Regions from separate parts of the Homo sapiens genome. Here regions 2, 3, 4 and 5 are each linked to region 1. The links are contacts of gene promoters, found by promoter capture Hi-C in blood cells and fetal thymus (Javierre and others, 2016). All regions are on one chromosome and are shown on one strand. The core of a region is centred on a gene start or on the middle of the fragment in contact, and the rest is flanking DNA. Distances in the headings are between cores, read along the strand shown. Region 1 holds the start of ARL5C (ARF like GTPase 5C). Region 2 holds the start of PPP1R1B (protein phosphatase 1 regulatory inhibitor subunit 1B). Region 3 holds the start of RPL23 (ribosomal protein L23). Region 4 overlaps LASP1 (LIM and SH3 protein 1). Region 5 overlaps LASP1 (LIM and SH3 protein 1).

Region 1 (2,767 bases), core at 87-2,586:
TGGAGCTGGGTTTGGCAGGGCCCCCGGGAAGATGGAGGAAAGCAGTGGGAGCTAGGGTTGCCTGTACGGTGCAGGATTTGAATGCCAGACCGAGGAGCCGCAGTACTAGGAAGGTCCAAGCAGCGTGCCCAATCGCTCCTCCGGACTACAGAGGAGCCCGGGAACCCAGGGAAGAGCTCCAGTGATTGGTCCCCCTGCCTGTCAGTCTGGTGGGAGGCCCAGCTCTCTACCCTCCCCGCCCGAGAGTCACTTACAACCGGTAGAGAATGGTGGTCTTTCCTTCATTGTCCAGTCCCACGATGATGACCGTGTGCTCTGGAAGCGTCGGAGGAAGGGCAGCGTCAGGGCCAAACCCGAAGACCAAGGGACTGTGTGCCCCCACCAGACCTCCCAGGAAGGAGATAGCGCTCCCCGCAGGCTGGGGACCTCTGCCCACCGTACCGCGTCTGCTTCCCACCCAGCTCCGACACCTGCCCCACTCCGGGACGGTGGAAAAGACAGCTGAGCCCCCACCTCCCTTCACATTCCAGAAAAGTGTCTGAAAGGCCCGGGGCGCTTCGGGGCTTGCCAAGAGACGGTGTTTAGAGAAAGAGCATAACGCGAAGTCACAATCGCAGGAAACTCGCAGCAGCCCCCCATCCCCGCCGCTGGCTCCGTTTAGCGGGGAGAAAGGAGGGTCGCCCAGCTTTGCGTCCTGGGGCGCACCGAAGCGCCGGGACCCAAGAGGAGCAGGCAGGGACGGGGGCAGGGGAGGCCGCGGGGCAGTCGAGGAGCGCCCATATACGACCCTCGGAGCCCGAGGTCCCCCCGTGCGTCCGACCACAGATCAGAGGAGTCCCAGAAGAGGGCGAGATCAAAGCGCTCGCTTGGATGCCCTGTGCGCCCCTTACCCTGGTTCCCGAAGATGCTCATTAACTTGGCGATCAGCTGTCCCATGGCACTTCCCGGGCCGGACAGGTGCAGGAGGGCTCAGCGGCCTCAGGAGCGGAGTCGGCCCTGGTATTCGGAGCTCCGCTCCCCCGGGAGGGTCTGGCAGATTTTGCCTACGAAGTTAGGGAAGCCCCACACGTCACCAACCTGACCTGGGAACCCTCTGGGACGCTGGCCCTTCGTGGGCACTATGGACACCCCAGTGACTAAGGGCTGCCTGTCCCGGGCCCAAGAGGTGCAAGGAATATGGGGGTTCCAGGCTCCAGCCCTCCCCCTCGCCCTGCGAAAACTCCTGAGTTCTCCGGGTGGACTGCTCCACTACCGCAAATCAGGGGAGACTCAGCACTGCGCGCGGAACCGGATCCCAGCTCTCCCTCCTCTGAGTGCCATGTCTAGGGCACTAGACTGAAGCAAAACCCCAGGCGACCCACTTTCTGTACCTACCAGCTGTGTAGTACAGACAGGGCTCACCGATCCTCTCTGAGCTGGGAGAATATTCCAACCCTCCACAGATGTGCAGTTGGTTCACTAGCGTGGGTCTTGTGGGCCCACTCAAATTGCATTCCCCTGGGGAAGGGCAGGGTCTCCCCTTGATGCTTGGCAACTTCTAGGATAAATCAGTACTCCTACAATTCACGGACAAACCTACTGCCCAGGCACAGCTTCCTGATCCCCAAAAGTGGGCGCCTGAAGACAAGGATGGAGCATGAAGAGAGATCCTCCGGCTGGAGACCCTGCAGAGAGGCCCCAGATACCTGGCAGAGGAGTACATGGGCCAACAGAGAACCAGGAGGCCAGGCCTGAGGAGGGAATGGAAGGTGGAGTTTCCTGCTGTTGCTTGTGAATTTCTTTCTTTGCTTAAGCTGGGGGGAAAAAAACAAAAAATCAGATAACAAAAGGAGAAGTCCAAAAGGCAACGTGCCCTCAGGCTGCAGGAATGGTTAGCAGGAGATCCAGCCAACACACCAGGGAGCCAGCTCCTTCCACCCGACTGTACTGCCTTCCTGCAGCCTCCACTAAGGTAACAACCCTCCATTAAGGTAACAACTTTCTAACTGGTCTCCCTGCATCTTCCTCTCCTTTCCCAAGGCATCCTCTCCATGGCCCCTATTAACCTTCCTAAAGCACAGCTCAGGGTCTGTAACTCCCCCAGCTCATAGATCTTCAATGGCTCCCTATTGCTCACTGGATTCAGATCAGTCTCCACTTGACATTCAAGAGCTTCCACGAACAGCCCCCACCTGCCTTCACAGGTTTATCTCCCAGGCTCTGTATCTACTGGTTCCTGCCTATACATGCCTGGCTCTTTCTGATGGTGCCTTTGCTTCTGCATTTCCTCCTTGAGTGCCTTTCACCTTCTCAGAAAGGAGAATGCCTGAGACCCATTAGCTGCCCTGCCATAAAAGCCACCTGCTTCCCCAGCCCTGACTTGGTTCTCCAGCCACATGGGGCTTCTCCCTACACTGGGCTTATAGACGGGCAAGTCTGTTTCCTCCCATCAACTGTGAGTACCAGGGTGGGATTCATATATTGTTAACCAGCATATGACCTCCCCCGCCAGCCCAATCACTCCCTGCCTGGTCCAGAACCCTGCACACAGGAGGAATGTGTTGCTGTCAGACTGATGTAGAATGAGTTAAGCTACAGCCTGAGAAATGGCACTTGGAGTATTAAAAAAGGAATGTGAACACAAGTTTAAGAGGATTGAGGAAGGCTGGGAAGTTTGCGGGAAGAAGAAGGAAAATAGCTGACTAAATACAGACTTTCATCCCACCCTGCTTGGTGCCCAGAGTTAGAAGGATAGAGTTGACTGCCAGAGCCCATCTGGGCTGATTGC
Region 2 (2,700 bases), core at 198-2,697, 460 kb after region 1:
AACAAACATACAGGGACTTGAGCCAGGCCTGGGGTGGGCTGATGTGGAGCTGGATGGCCAGGACATCCCACTCCTATGAGCAACACTCTGGACCTCCTGCCACCCTTTCCCTCACCCCCAGAGTGGGCCCTGACCCCAATTCCAGAAGATTCCTCTGGCCTTTCACTCCACCCAGGACCCAGATGCTGGGGCTGGGAGTGGAAAAGCTGCAGGAGGATTGGGGGTTTCAGGCCTGAGAGTGACCAGGAGAGAGGACGCCAACACAAACAGAGCCCCAGGAAAACATGCATGTACACGTCTACACACACCCTCTCAGTGCTAGACAGAAGCATTCAGACCCTCTGCACAGCTCCAAGGAGGGAAACAGCAGCTCCTGCAAAGGCACCCAAGGCCCGGACAAATAGACCAAATAGACAGGGACATTCCACCCACAGGGCCAGCTCCTCCCGCTCCCGCTCCAGAGACACACACAAATACCTCTGGAGAGAGAGAGGCTCACACCTGTCTCCCCCAACCCTGCTTCTGAATGCACCAAATTCATGCACGTGATGGCACGTGTACAGGCAGCCCCCAAACCCACCCCAACTCTGGGCCGGCCCTGTCCTCCCCACCCCATTAGATCCGGAGAGGAAAGACAGGAGCCACGTGAATCTACAGTACATCATGGCAGGGCACATTCCCCTTCTCCCTCACAGGAGCGCTCACACATCCACAACCTCATACCCCAGCAACTGCACAGCGGAGCTGTGGATACAGTCCCCCACCCCCTGCAAGCTGGCACACGCCTGCCCATCACCTTGACAGCCTCTGACATCCTCCCCCACACCCACACCCTCCCCCGCACACACGCAGTCCTCCCACACCCTGCCACTCACACCTGCATCTTTGACACTCTGACACACTTACACAGACACACTCACACCACACCGGACCCCCCAAAACACACTCCCTGGCTATGGGCACCACAGGGCCCCGGCACACCCCTGCACACTCTCCCTGCCACGATGACTGACACGTGTCCTCCCACACACAACTCGGTCACACTCGCTCCCTTTCCAGGACACCCCCATTCACAGCGTGACAGGCTGGTACTCTCCCCACGACCTCGCAGGCCTCTCTGAAACTCCCAGTACCAGGACCACGAAGGGGTTAAAGCCAGAGTCCTGCCTCCCCGCTGCCCCTCTCCCCCTCCCTCCCCCTTTATCCTCTCTGCTGGACTCCATCAATAATGCAGCTTCAAGTTCTGGGGAGACCGCAGGGGGCCCCCCAGCTGGCTCCCCAGGCCTTGGCTCTAACTCCCACCCTCCTCCCAGCCCCAGGAGAACACGATTCTCCATGCTCATTGGCCAGTTTCCCCTAAACCCTCCCTCCGAGCACCCGGGCGCCAGTCCCAGGCGGAGGGGACGGGCTGGGGACCCCAAAGCTGGGACCGGAGGGTGAGCCCGGCAGAGGCAGAGACACACGCGGAGAGGAGGAGAGGCTGAGGGAGGGAGGTGGAGAAGGACGGGAGAGGCAGAGAGAGGAGACACGCAGAGACACTCAGGAGGGGAGAGACACCGAGACGCAGAGACACTCAGGAGGGGAGAGACACCGAGACGCAGAGACACCCAGGCCGGGGAGCGCGAGGGAGCGAGGCACAGACCTGGCTCAGCGAGCGCGGGGGGCGAGCCCCGAGTCCCGAGAGCCTGGGGGCGCGCCCAGCCCGGGCGCCGACCCTCCTCCCGCTCCCGCGCCCTCCCCTCGGCGGGCACGGTATTTTTATCCGTGCGCGAACAGCCCTCCTCCTCCTCTCGCCGCACAGCCCGCCGCCTGCGCGGGGGAGCCCAGCACAGACCGCCGCCGGGACCCCGAGTCGCGCACCCCAGCCCCACCGCCCACCCCGCGCGCCATGGACCCCAAGGACCGCAAGAAGATCCAGTTCTCGGTGCCCGCGCCCCCTAGCCAGCTCGACCCCCGCCAGGTGGAGATGGTAAGGGGCCCGTGCCCCACCCCGGCAGCGTACCCGACACACCCCGCGGGGCTTCTTCGCCCTCCCAAGGCGCTGCCCCGGCCGGACTGGCCTGGGGGTGGGGGCGCAAGGAGAGCCGGGCTCTGCCTCGGTCAGGACGGGGCGCGGGGCCGCGTGTGAAGTTAGCTGGAGACTCGTGCAACTTTTCCCCGCGGCTTTGGTCCTGATCCCGGGGCAAGAGAGTTCCTGGCAGTGAGGCTGGGGGTGCGGGGGTGGGGGGACAGGCCGATTCCAGACCGCCCAGGAGTGGGGTGGGGGCGTCCTTTGGTCCCAGCACAGTCCCCAAAGGGTAGTCAGTCTCCTAGGCTACCACCGGGACCGCTCCGCCTGGCTCTGTCCCAGAGCTGGTCAGATGTGAGCAGCGGTGGACACTGACCTTGTCACCCAGGGCAGGAGTATGAGGCTGCCACCGGGTGAATCCACTACCCTGCCCCTCTCTAATCCCGCGTGTGTGCCTGGGCTGGGGTCTCCAGAACCTGGCTCTGGCCTCCTGCTGTCAGGCCCCAGAGCCCCAACCCCAAGGAGGGAGAGGTGGGGAGTCATCACAAAGCCAGACCTCTTCCCACAGACTACTGAGTCCTCCTGAGGGCCTTCTTGGGGGTTGAGGGGCTTCCAAAGGCTGGCGGGTGCTGTGACAGAGAGCTCCACTTCCCATCCCTAGTGGAGCAGGGGTCACTTGTTGCTGAGCTGAG
Region 3 (2,700 bases), core at 46-2,545, 310 kb before region 1:
AGTGACAAGATGATGGTCCCCCCTCCAACACAATATGAGCAAAAACTTAAGATACTTATCTCACACTGCCTCTCAATGGAAAACAAACTTGAGGCCTTGAAAACTGATCCATTTTCCAATAAAGGAAAGCGTCCCCCCACTACTCATCAGTATTAAGGTGGGCTCAGTGTTTACTCACCCTTTTTTCTGAGCTCTGGTTTGCCTTTCTTGACTGTGGCCATCACCATGTCACCCACACCAGCAGCGGGAAGTCTGTTCAGCCGTCCCTTGATCCCCTTCACGGAGATGATATACAGGTTTTTGGCTCCTACAAAAGAATGTAAATAAAAATAAAAAATGTTGAGGGCCATCAGGCCGTTCCATCAGTATAACATTTCCCAAACACTTCCAAAGCCCCTCCCTCCACTCACTGCCCAAGCAGTTAGTCCGCAAGAACGCCTTGTCACACCACCGATTGAAGCAAACAACACATGTTGCCACTTCACCCAAAAGCGATGTTTTCACTCTCCCCTTTCTTGACGGCTCAATAGGTCATTAGCCACAGGCCCATTGAGTGCTTTTAAAAGGGGGAGTATAGCAACGTGCAAAGACCTCACCTGTGTTGTCAGCACAATTGATTACAGCTCCTACCGGAAGACCCAAGGAAATCCGGAATTTCGCACCAGAGGACCCACCACGTCCTGTGGATATAAAGGGAAGGGAAACAGGATAAAGAGATCACAATCTAGACATGGTTCGGAGTTCCCCCTCATACTCAAGCTGTAATTCACCGCACATGCTTTGATAGACTGTACGCTATAGATTAGCTCGCTCGGATTTTACTTATGCCGTCCCCATGTGCCACCCGATTCTCACGGAAAGTAGCCTATTTCTTACTATTAACACTCTGACATCGAAATTAAGAAACCTAGACGACTCAACCCTTGCTCTAACTTTCGCAAAACGCAATTACTCCTGCAAGGCATAAAACCGCAGAGGTCGCGCAAACCAGGGCCTAATCCAGTCTAACTTCAACCCCATTACGATAGCCCTATTCGCGGAGCGATCTCGCGGTATCCAGACTACATTCACGTCGGGATCCTGCCATCTCAACTCTCCAGCACCCCACTGCCACTTTCGAGGGCCCTGGCAGTGCTCTCGCGGTGGCCTGGCTCTCTCTCTCCGGCCTGAAGGAGAGCAAAGCGCCCCAGCTGCCTAGGGCCACCGCTCCTGACGAATCCGCCAGCCACTGCACGACAGATGGTGGAGGATCCTCCAGAAACAAAACCTCACCTCGCTTCGACATCTTGAACGCCGGAAAAAAGAAAAAAGGAAGTCGATTCAAAGGACACTGGGATATGAACTTTAACGCCCCGCCCACCCTCCTCACGTGGCCGGAGCAAAAACCGGCCTCTTCCGCCTCTGGGCGCTGCCTTATTACGTAATAAGTTTACGACGTCGCTTTTAGCCCTCTCTGCGAAGTGGGAGTTGAGGTAGAAGCGCAAGAGATAGGAAGTATCTTCTCTACGAGCTTAAGAGTAGTTAGGGACATGGAAACAGTGATTTGTTAACTTGCTCACGACCTCTTTTGACCACTTAATAGTGCCAGGCACTTATCTGCACACTAGAGAATAGGAATTAAAACACGGTTTGTGCCGTGTGGGGGTTCCCCAAGGAACAAAGAAAGTGGGGGAGGGAGGGAGAACAAGCTCTAAACGGTTTCGTTGAATGTAATACAGTTGAGAAGTGCTGCAGATCATTCCATCTATGTGTTCTTGGTATCATACCATTCTGTATTTTACATATACAGTATTGCTCTATTTATTGACCCGTCCCCCCCAACACACACTCTTTTTTTCTTTTTTTGAGACCGAGTCTCACTCTGTCGCCCAGGCTGGAGTATAGTGGCGAGATCTCAGCTCACTGCAACCTCCGTCTTCCGGGTTCAAGCAATTCTCTGTCTCAGCCTCAGAGTACCTGAGACCACAGGCGCCCGCCACAACGCTGGGCTAATTTTTGTATTTTTAGTAGAGACGGGGTTTCGCCATGTTATTGGCCAGGCTGGTCTCGAACTTCTGATCTCAAGTGATCTGCCCGCCTTGGTCCCTCAAAGTGCTGGGATTACAGGCGTGAGCCCCCGCGCCAGGCCTAATTGCTCCTTTCACAGCTTCAGCCGCCCCTTATTCTCTGGGTTCTTTCCTTCCCACGATACATTAATTCACATACTTATTGAGCTCCTACTTTACAGCAGGTTCTGTCCAGGGCGTACAGCGGATTACATCAGAGAACAAAATAGATCAACATTCTTTTCCTTATGGAGCTTACATTCTGCTGGGGTGCAGGTGGAGGAGGATATTAGACACTAAACAAAAGATATAATAAGTAATTGCAGTATGTAGTATGTTAGATGGGGATATGTATTATAAAAATATAAATAGTATCGCTTCTCGGCCTTTTGGCCAAGATCAAGTGTAAAATATAAATAGTGGCCGGGCCTTGTGGCTCACGCTTGTAATCCCAGCACTTTGGGAGGCCGAGGCGGGTGGATCACGAGGTCAGGAGATCGAGACTAGCCTGGCCAACACAGGGAAACTCCGTCTCTACTAAAAATACAAAAATTAGCTGGGCGTGGTGGCGGGCGCCTGTAATCCCAGCTACTCCGGAGGCTGAGGCAGGAGAATCGCTTGAACCCAGAAGGCAGAGGCGGCAGTGAGCCGAGAT
Region 4 (2,700 bases), core at 121-2,620, 270 kb before region 1:
TGCTCTGTGAGAAGCCCAGAGGCTCCTGCCCCTCCCCCAGAGTCACCCCCACTCTGTTTTTTCTGTCCTGCAGACACTACCCCAAGCAGTCCTTCACCATGGTGGCGGACACCCCGGAAAACCTTCGCCTCAAGCAACAGAGTGAGCTCCAGAGTCAGGTGAGGGGCTGGGCGGTGCTGGGGCCTGGCAGGGAGGGATGCTGGGGAGGGAAGTTGTAAGGTCGGCATTTGGCAAGAGTACCTTCCCCTGCGGTTACTCTGCAAGGCCAAGGTGCTGAAATCCTAGCATTGCCTTTAATCTTGACCCCACCCCTGACTTTATCAAAGGAGCAGGGTAGAGCGTTCTCCCACTTCCTACCTAGAGGGGGTTGGAGAGGTGTGGGTGTCTATTTGAGCCCGCTCTGGGGCTCCCTAAAGCCTACCTCCTCCAGGAAGCCACTCTCCCCTCCCTCTTCCCCATTCACACTCACCCACAAAGGAGGGGTTTGGGGAGGACCAGGGAATTTGCCCCTCCAGGTCATGCCAGTCTGAGGCTGGGCAACCAACCCTCTATAGCCGCGTCCCAAACCTCCACCCACTGAAGGGCAAGGTGTGAAGGGGGCCCTGCCATGGGGGCACAGGATAGGGGGCTGTTCCGCCTCTGTCTCCTTTGGCTTGACTTTCCAGAACACTGCTGAGTGGGAGGTATGTGCCCCTGTAGGAGGGGAGGACGGGTTCCAGGCCTAGGGAGAACTTGGTCTTTAGGGGACACGGAGGAATAAGCAAAGGGTCTGGAGTCCTGAGAACAGAACAGCTGACCCACCCTGCCTGGGGGTGCGAGGGCTCCTGGGACAAACCTGGCCAGTGATGAGGTGGGGTGGGGTGGGGCGGGGCTTCAGCCGATGAAGGATTAGGCGCGAGAATACATGTAGGGGAATTTACCACGTGGGCAGCGCGCCCAGGACCCACTCAGGATCGGGAGAAGACTGCAGAGGTTCCACCCGGGCCACAGAGGGGATCTCTCCCAGTTCCTCCAGAGGGGACTCCTGCTGCCTGATCTTGATGTGACTGCCCGGGTCCATCAGGGAGAACCGACCCTGCCTTTTGTCAGGCTTTCCATGCACCCTCTCTCAGCATCCTCCCAGCAGCCCTGTGAGGAAGGTGCTATCTTCCCCATTGTTACAGATGAGGCGACTGAGGCCCAGCGACTTTGAGGGACTAGCTGAGGTCCTGCGGGTAGGAGAGGCAATAATAATATTCACAGCTGACGATGGAGGGCTCAGTGCTCCCGGCGTGTGAGCTCGTTTAATCCTCACCCAGCCCTGTGCAGCTGTAGCATCACTTCACTTCAGAGAAGAGGAAATAGACACTGGCAGCTTTGAATGTAGGTTTGTCTAACCCAGGGACTATCCACTCCCCAAGAAACAGTCTCTACCTTAATAATAAACATGATAGTTCCTTATGCTGTTGAGAAGTTTTGTAGTTTAGGGCTGGGAGCCATGGCTCACGCCTGTAATCCCTGTGCTCTGGGAGGCCAAGGTAAGAGGATCACTTGAGCCCAGGAGTTCGAGACCAGCTGGGGCAACATAGCAATACCTGGTCCCTAAAAAAAAAAACGAGCAGAGATGGTGGTGTGCACCTGTGGTCGTAGCTACTTGGGAGTTTGAGGCGGGAGTATCACTTGAGCTGAGGAGTTGGAGGCTGCAGTGAGCCATGATCGCACCACTACACTCCAGCCTGGGTGATGGGGTGAGACCCTGTCTCTAAAAAAAGGAAAAGCAAGAAATTGTGTAGTTCAGCAAGTGCCTTTAGTTAGTTCCCCTGTTTATCCTTGACTGGGTTCTGGGAGAAGGTAAAAGACCCAGCGTCTCTGTCTTACAGATAGGGGAACCGAGTGAGTGAATGCGGATCCAGGATTTGGGCCCTGGTCTTGTCACTCCCAAGTCTGGGGCCCTTGATGCTGCACAGCCCTGGTAGGGCCTGAGGCTCACAGAGGAAGAGAGCAGCAGCTCACACCTGCCACCCACCCACCTGCGGCACAGAAGCTGAAGTTACTAGGAAGCAGGGAACACCACAGCCTGCCTGGCCATATTTTACAGATTCTAGCCAGGCCCTGACTCCTGCCTTCAATTCCCTGCCCTGTGGAAGGGCCATGGGGGCCAGAGGTGGAGGGGCTCAGAAGGACCTCGGAGAAGAGGTGCTGGGAGCAGATAGCAGGTCTTTGGAGACACACACACACACACACACACACACACACACACACACACCCTTCTCAGGGGAGAAATTCAAACCCCTCAGCCTTTGTCAGTTCCACAAAAGCGTGGCTGCAGCTCTTTTTGCCCCGGCACCCTATCCCCGAGGGGTGGGGTTTGAGGAGGAAGCACCTCCACGTTGTTCCCCCTGCCCAGGATGGGCAGCAAGTGGGCAGGGCATGCTGTTGGCAGGGGCTGCTTCTGCCCCCCACAGGGGAAGCCAGCACCACGCTCTGGGTTTGGGGGCTCCTGTCCCTGGCCTGTGCCCCCTGCTTCCCAGGGTCATAGCCTGCTGGGTTCCCGGGGGGGCCTCTTGGGAGATGAAAATGGCGGTCACTCTTCATTAGGGCCTCACTGAGGGCCAGAGCGTGTCCGTGTGTGTATGTGTGTGTGTGTGCGTGTGCACGCATGCACGCGTGTATGTGTGTGTGTGTGTGTGCAAGCATGCACGCATGTATGCGTGTATGCCT
Region 5 (2,710 bases), core at 34-2,533, 290 kb before region 1:
TAGCCCATGTGGCTCATCTCCCTCTCTTAGAGCTGAAATTCACATCCACAGTTCTTTCTGCTCAGCTCTTCTGCCAGTGTGTTTGCAGAAAGTACTTTTATTTATACATATTTATATTTTATTTACATCTCATTTGTGCCAAAAGTAGGTCCCATCCCTTCCTGACCCTATCTGGAGGAATGCTCTGGGCCTGGGGTCTTGTATGGGGGCGTGGGGCCACTGGGAATAATCCTGTCCTCCTCGGAATTTGTGGAGGTGCAGCAAAGATCTATGCCTTTAAGCCAGCGGGTCAGGTGGCCAACCAAGCTAGGCTGGTGCCCCGGCCAGGGTGGGGCTGGCATTGCCTCTGCAGGAGGGAGAAACTGTAACCCTGGGCAACAGGAAGGGAAGAGATGGTCTCATAATCCATCCCTGAGTCATGGCCACCCCAGGTAGCCTGGGTTCAGAGGCCAAGGTGCCAGGCTGCAGGCACAGTGACACGAAGCTTGCCACATCCCCCCCAACCCAGAGCCACAGAGGGACAGGCTGTCCCAAGTGAGGGGTATCCTTGCAGGCTTCTGCCCCTACCAGCCTGTTTACCTTTCTTTAGAGTGGGTTGCAGGTAGGCAAGGGAAGATCAAGATGACCCTGCCTTGGAGCCTCGGATCCAGGCTGAGAGGCCTCTAACAGGCAGCAGAGGTAGGGTCTGTCTGGTTTCTGTGAACAGGGAAGCCATGGACTTTGCAGGCAGCAGGAAGGGGCAGAGGTGCATGCCTCGAGGTGCAGTTTCCTTGAGTCCTGAGGCCCAGGAATGCTTCGCTGAAATCATCTTGCCTGGGGCCTTTAAAAGAGGGGGGCTCTTGCTCTGGGACAGAGCCCATGGGGCAGGGCAGAGGCAGACGGGGTCACTGTGGGGTCCTCTGGACATATTTCCCTGACAGTGTCCTTCCCCAGACCCCATTGAGACAAGGCAGGAGTTCTTTCATCTTAGGGTCCAGGCTTGGCTCACAGCGGTTGTGGAGGGACTGGCCATTTTCTGCCTCCCCTCCCCACAATTTTCCTACCCCAAAAAGGACACAGTGGAAGGAGCTGGTGGGTTTTCTTGAACCTTGGGGCCTTCCTCCAGAGAGGGTAGGGGAGTCGCCTGAAGCTGCTGGAGGTGCCAAGCATTAGGGGTGGAACGGCCTCCTCTCCTGACCTTCCAGCACTCTGGGAGACAGTGGCTGCAGCTCCACTTGACACTTGTGCTTCATAGTAACTGGTTTCCATGTTTCTGCTCAGAGCCCCCTGCAGGGGGACAGGCGACCACCCTCCTCTGCCCCACCCTTGGGTGTCTGGATGAGAGTGTGGGGCCTGTGAGGGAGGTGGGAAGGAGCTACTGATAGAAATAGGTGCCATCCCCTAGAAGAGGGGCTCTGCTTCCTCCGCGTGGCAGCCTGGAGGGGTCTTTGGAACCACTGGGTCCAGTGTTGGCCCTGTGCCCCCTGCCTGCTCAGTACACCCCACCCTCCTTCTCCAAGGGGCTTGGCTCCGGGTGCAGGCCTGGCCATCTGGAGTAGGGGTCTCTCTCCCTTTGTCTCCCCAACGTCAATCAGGAGGCAGCCTTGGAGGTCCGTGGTCCTAGGACAGTGTGTAGCCCTTCGTGTGTGTGTGTGTGTGTGTGTGTGTGTGTGTGAGAAAGTGGGTCATGGTCTGGATTCTGGAGAATGTTTTTCCTGGCAGGCCCCTGTGGGGGTAGGGGGAGGCAGGGGCCCAGGCAGGGGCCTAGGCAGGGGCCTGTGCAGCTAAGTAGGCAGAGGCCAGCAGACTGGGTGGTGACCAGGCTGGGGCACCCTGCCAATGCCTCCCAGTTACTCGGGGAGGGAGTGGGGCTGTCACTTCAGGGGCCTGTGGGGGCAGGGACCAGCCTGTCTTAGTGTCCCTGGTGGGTTCTGTGTGTTGGGGTATGCACCACTTCAGGGGCCTGTGGGGGCAGGGACCAGTCTGTCTTAGTGTCCCGGTGGGTTCTGTCTATTGGGTTATGCACCAGAAGGAGTCTTTAAGTTGCCTCATAGGAGTTTGGGGGCCCTGGGTCACTGGGATAGGCCCAGGTTGGGGAGGGGGCCAAGCTTAGACCCGCCACTTCTTTGCTTCCAGACTTCCGGCTGGCCGTCCTCCCCAAGAGTGGTTCTCCTAGCATTCTGTTTAATATTCCACCATTAGGTTTTTCCTTTGGGTCTTCTTGATAGGGAACCAGTACCCTATTAGAAGGTGATTTCCCCCTGAAATTACCCTGGGGGTCTCTGGTTGAAGTGGGCCATGGTAGGGAGGTTGAATCCCAGATTCTCAGCCTTCTTTCTGCTATCCCCTCCTCCCAGTGTCTCAGAAGCACCTCTCCCTCCGGGGGTTTGGAGACAACATTTTGAAAAGCATCGCCTTGGGGGAATTCCTTGACAAATGGCCAAGAACCAGCTCTGTGGCTGGGCTCCTTCAAAAGTCCCCCTGGGCCTGCCTCCTGGCCTCCTTCTTTTGGAATGGGGAATGTCTCCCTTGACTACTGGGAAATGGGGCAGGGACAGGCCAGCCAGGTCACTCAGGTGGCCTGGATTATTCTGGGGTCCTGGCAGTGGACCCCTGTTTGGTGGTGATCCAGCACATCATCCTGGGCTTCTGGGGGTGAATTTAGATCCTGTTGTCATGGGTTTGCCTAAGCATCAATACTTCTCAGGGGTTCCACAAAGACCCCTCCAGG

The links. The method cuts DNA at HindIII sites, captures the fragments that hold promoters and counts their contacts. A CHiCAGO score of 5 or more calls a contact.
Region 2: the fragment with the promoter of PPP1R1B here is called in contact with the fragment with the promoter of ARL5C in region 1 in 2 of 17 cell types (neutrophils and endothelial precursors); the score reaches 5.2 in neutrophils.
Region 3: a contact is called between the fragment with the promoter of RPL23 here and the fragment with the promoter of ARL5C in region 1, in 4 of 17 cell types (naive CD4 T cells, total CD4 T cells, activated CD4 T cells and 1 more). The highest score is 7.5, in naive CD4 T cells.
Region 4: a fragment that was not itself captured here is called in contact with the fragment with the promoter of ARL5C in region 1 in 6 of 17 cell types (naive CD4 T cells, activated CD4 T cells, non-activated CD4 T cells and 3 more); the score reaches 8.0 in naive CD4 T cells.
Region 5: a contact is called between a fragment that was not itself captured here and the fragment with the promoter of ARL5C in region 1, in 7 of 17 cell types (fetal thymus, activated CD4 T cells, total CD8 T cells and 4 more). The highest score is 9.1, in fetal thymus.

Annotation. Positions count from the first base shown.
Region 1 is chr17:39,164,825-39,167,591 of GRCh38, forward strand. ARL5C (ARF like GTPase 5C) reads right to left here and starts at 1,337. Exons shown (of 6, transcript NM_001143968.1): 1 at 891-1,337; 2 at 255-315. The coding sequence starts at 936. RefSeq lists enhancers at 164-965, 966-1,767. The HindIII fragment of the contact is 4,701 bases long and covers 1-2,767 here.
Region 2 is chr17:39,625,505-39,628,204 of GRCh38, forward strand. PPP1R1B (protein phosphatase 1 regulatory inhibitor subunit 1B) reads left to right here and starts at 1,448. Exons shown (of 7, transcript NM_032192.4): 1 at 1,448-1,969. The coding sequence starts at 1,889. The HindIII fragment of the contact is 16,288 bases long and covers 1-2,700 here.
Region 3 is chr17:38,852,426-38,855,125 of GRCh38, forward strand. RPL23 (ribosomal protein L23) reads right to left here and starts at 1,296. Exons shown (of 5, transcript NM_000978.4): 1 at 1,273-1,296; 2 at 597-680; 3 at 179-307. The coding sequence starts at 1,285. It overlaps SNORA21 (small nucleolar RNA, H/ACA box 21), which reads right to left and starts at 570; the gene lies at 438-570. RefSeq lists enhancers at 149-932, 243-1,442, 933-1,716, 1,440-1,549. The HindIII fragment of the contact is 31,460 bases long and covers 1-2,700 here.
Region 4 is chr17:38,890,347-38,893,046 of GRCh38, forward strand. It overlaps LASP1 (LIM and SH3 protein 1), which reads left to right. Exons shown (of 7, transcript NM_006148.4): 3 at 74-158. Among named protein-coding and RNA genes, the nearest start is that of LASP1, 22 kb to the left of the region's middle. RefSeq lists an enhancer at 2,554-2,700. The HindIII fragment of the contact is 3,399 bases long and covers 1-2,700 here.
Region 5 is chr17:38,873,436-38,876,145 of GRCh38, forward strand. All of the region lies in intron 1 of LASP1 (LIM and SH3 protein 1), which reads left to right. Among named protein-coding and RNA genes, the nearest start is that of LASP1, 4.7 kb to the left of the region's middle. The HindIII fragment of the contact is 1,603 bases long and covers 483-2,085 here.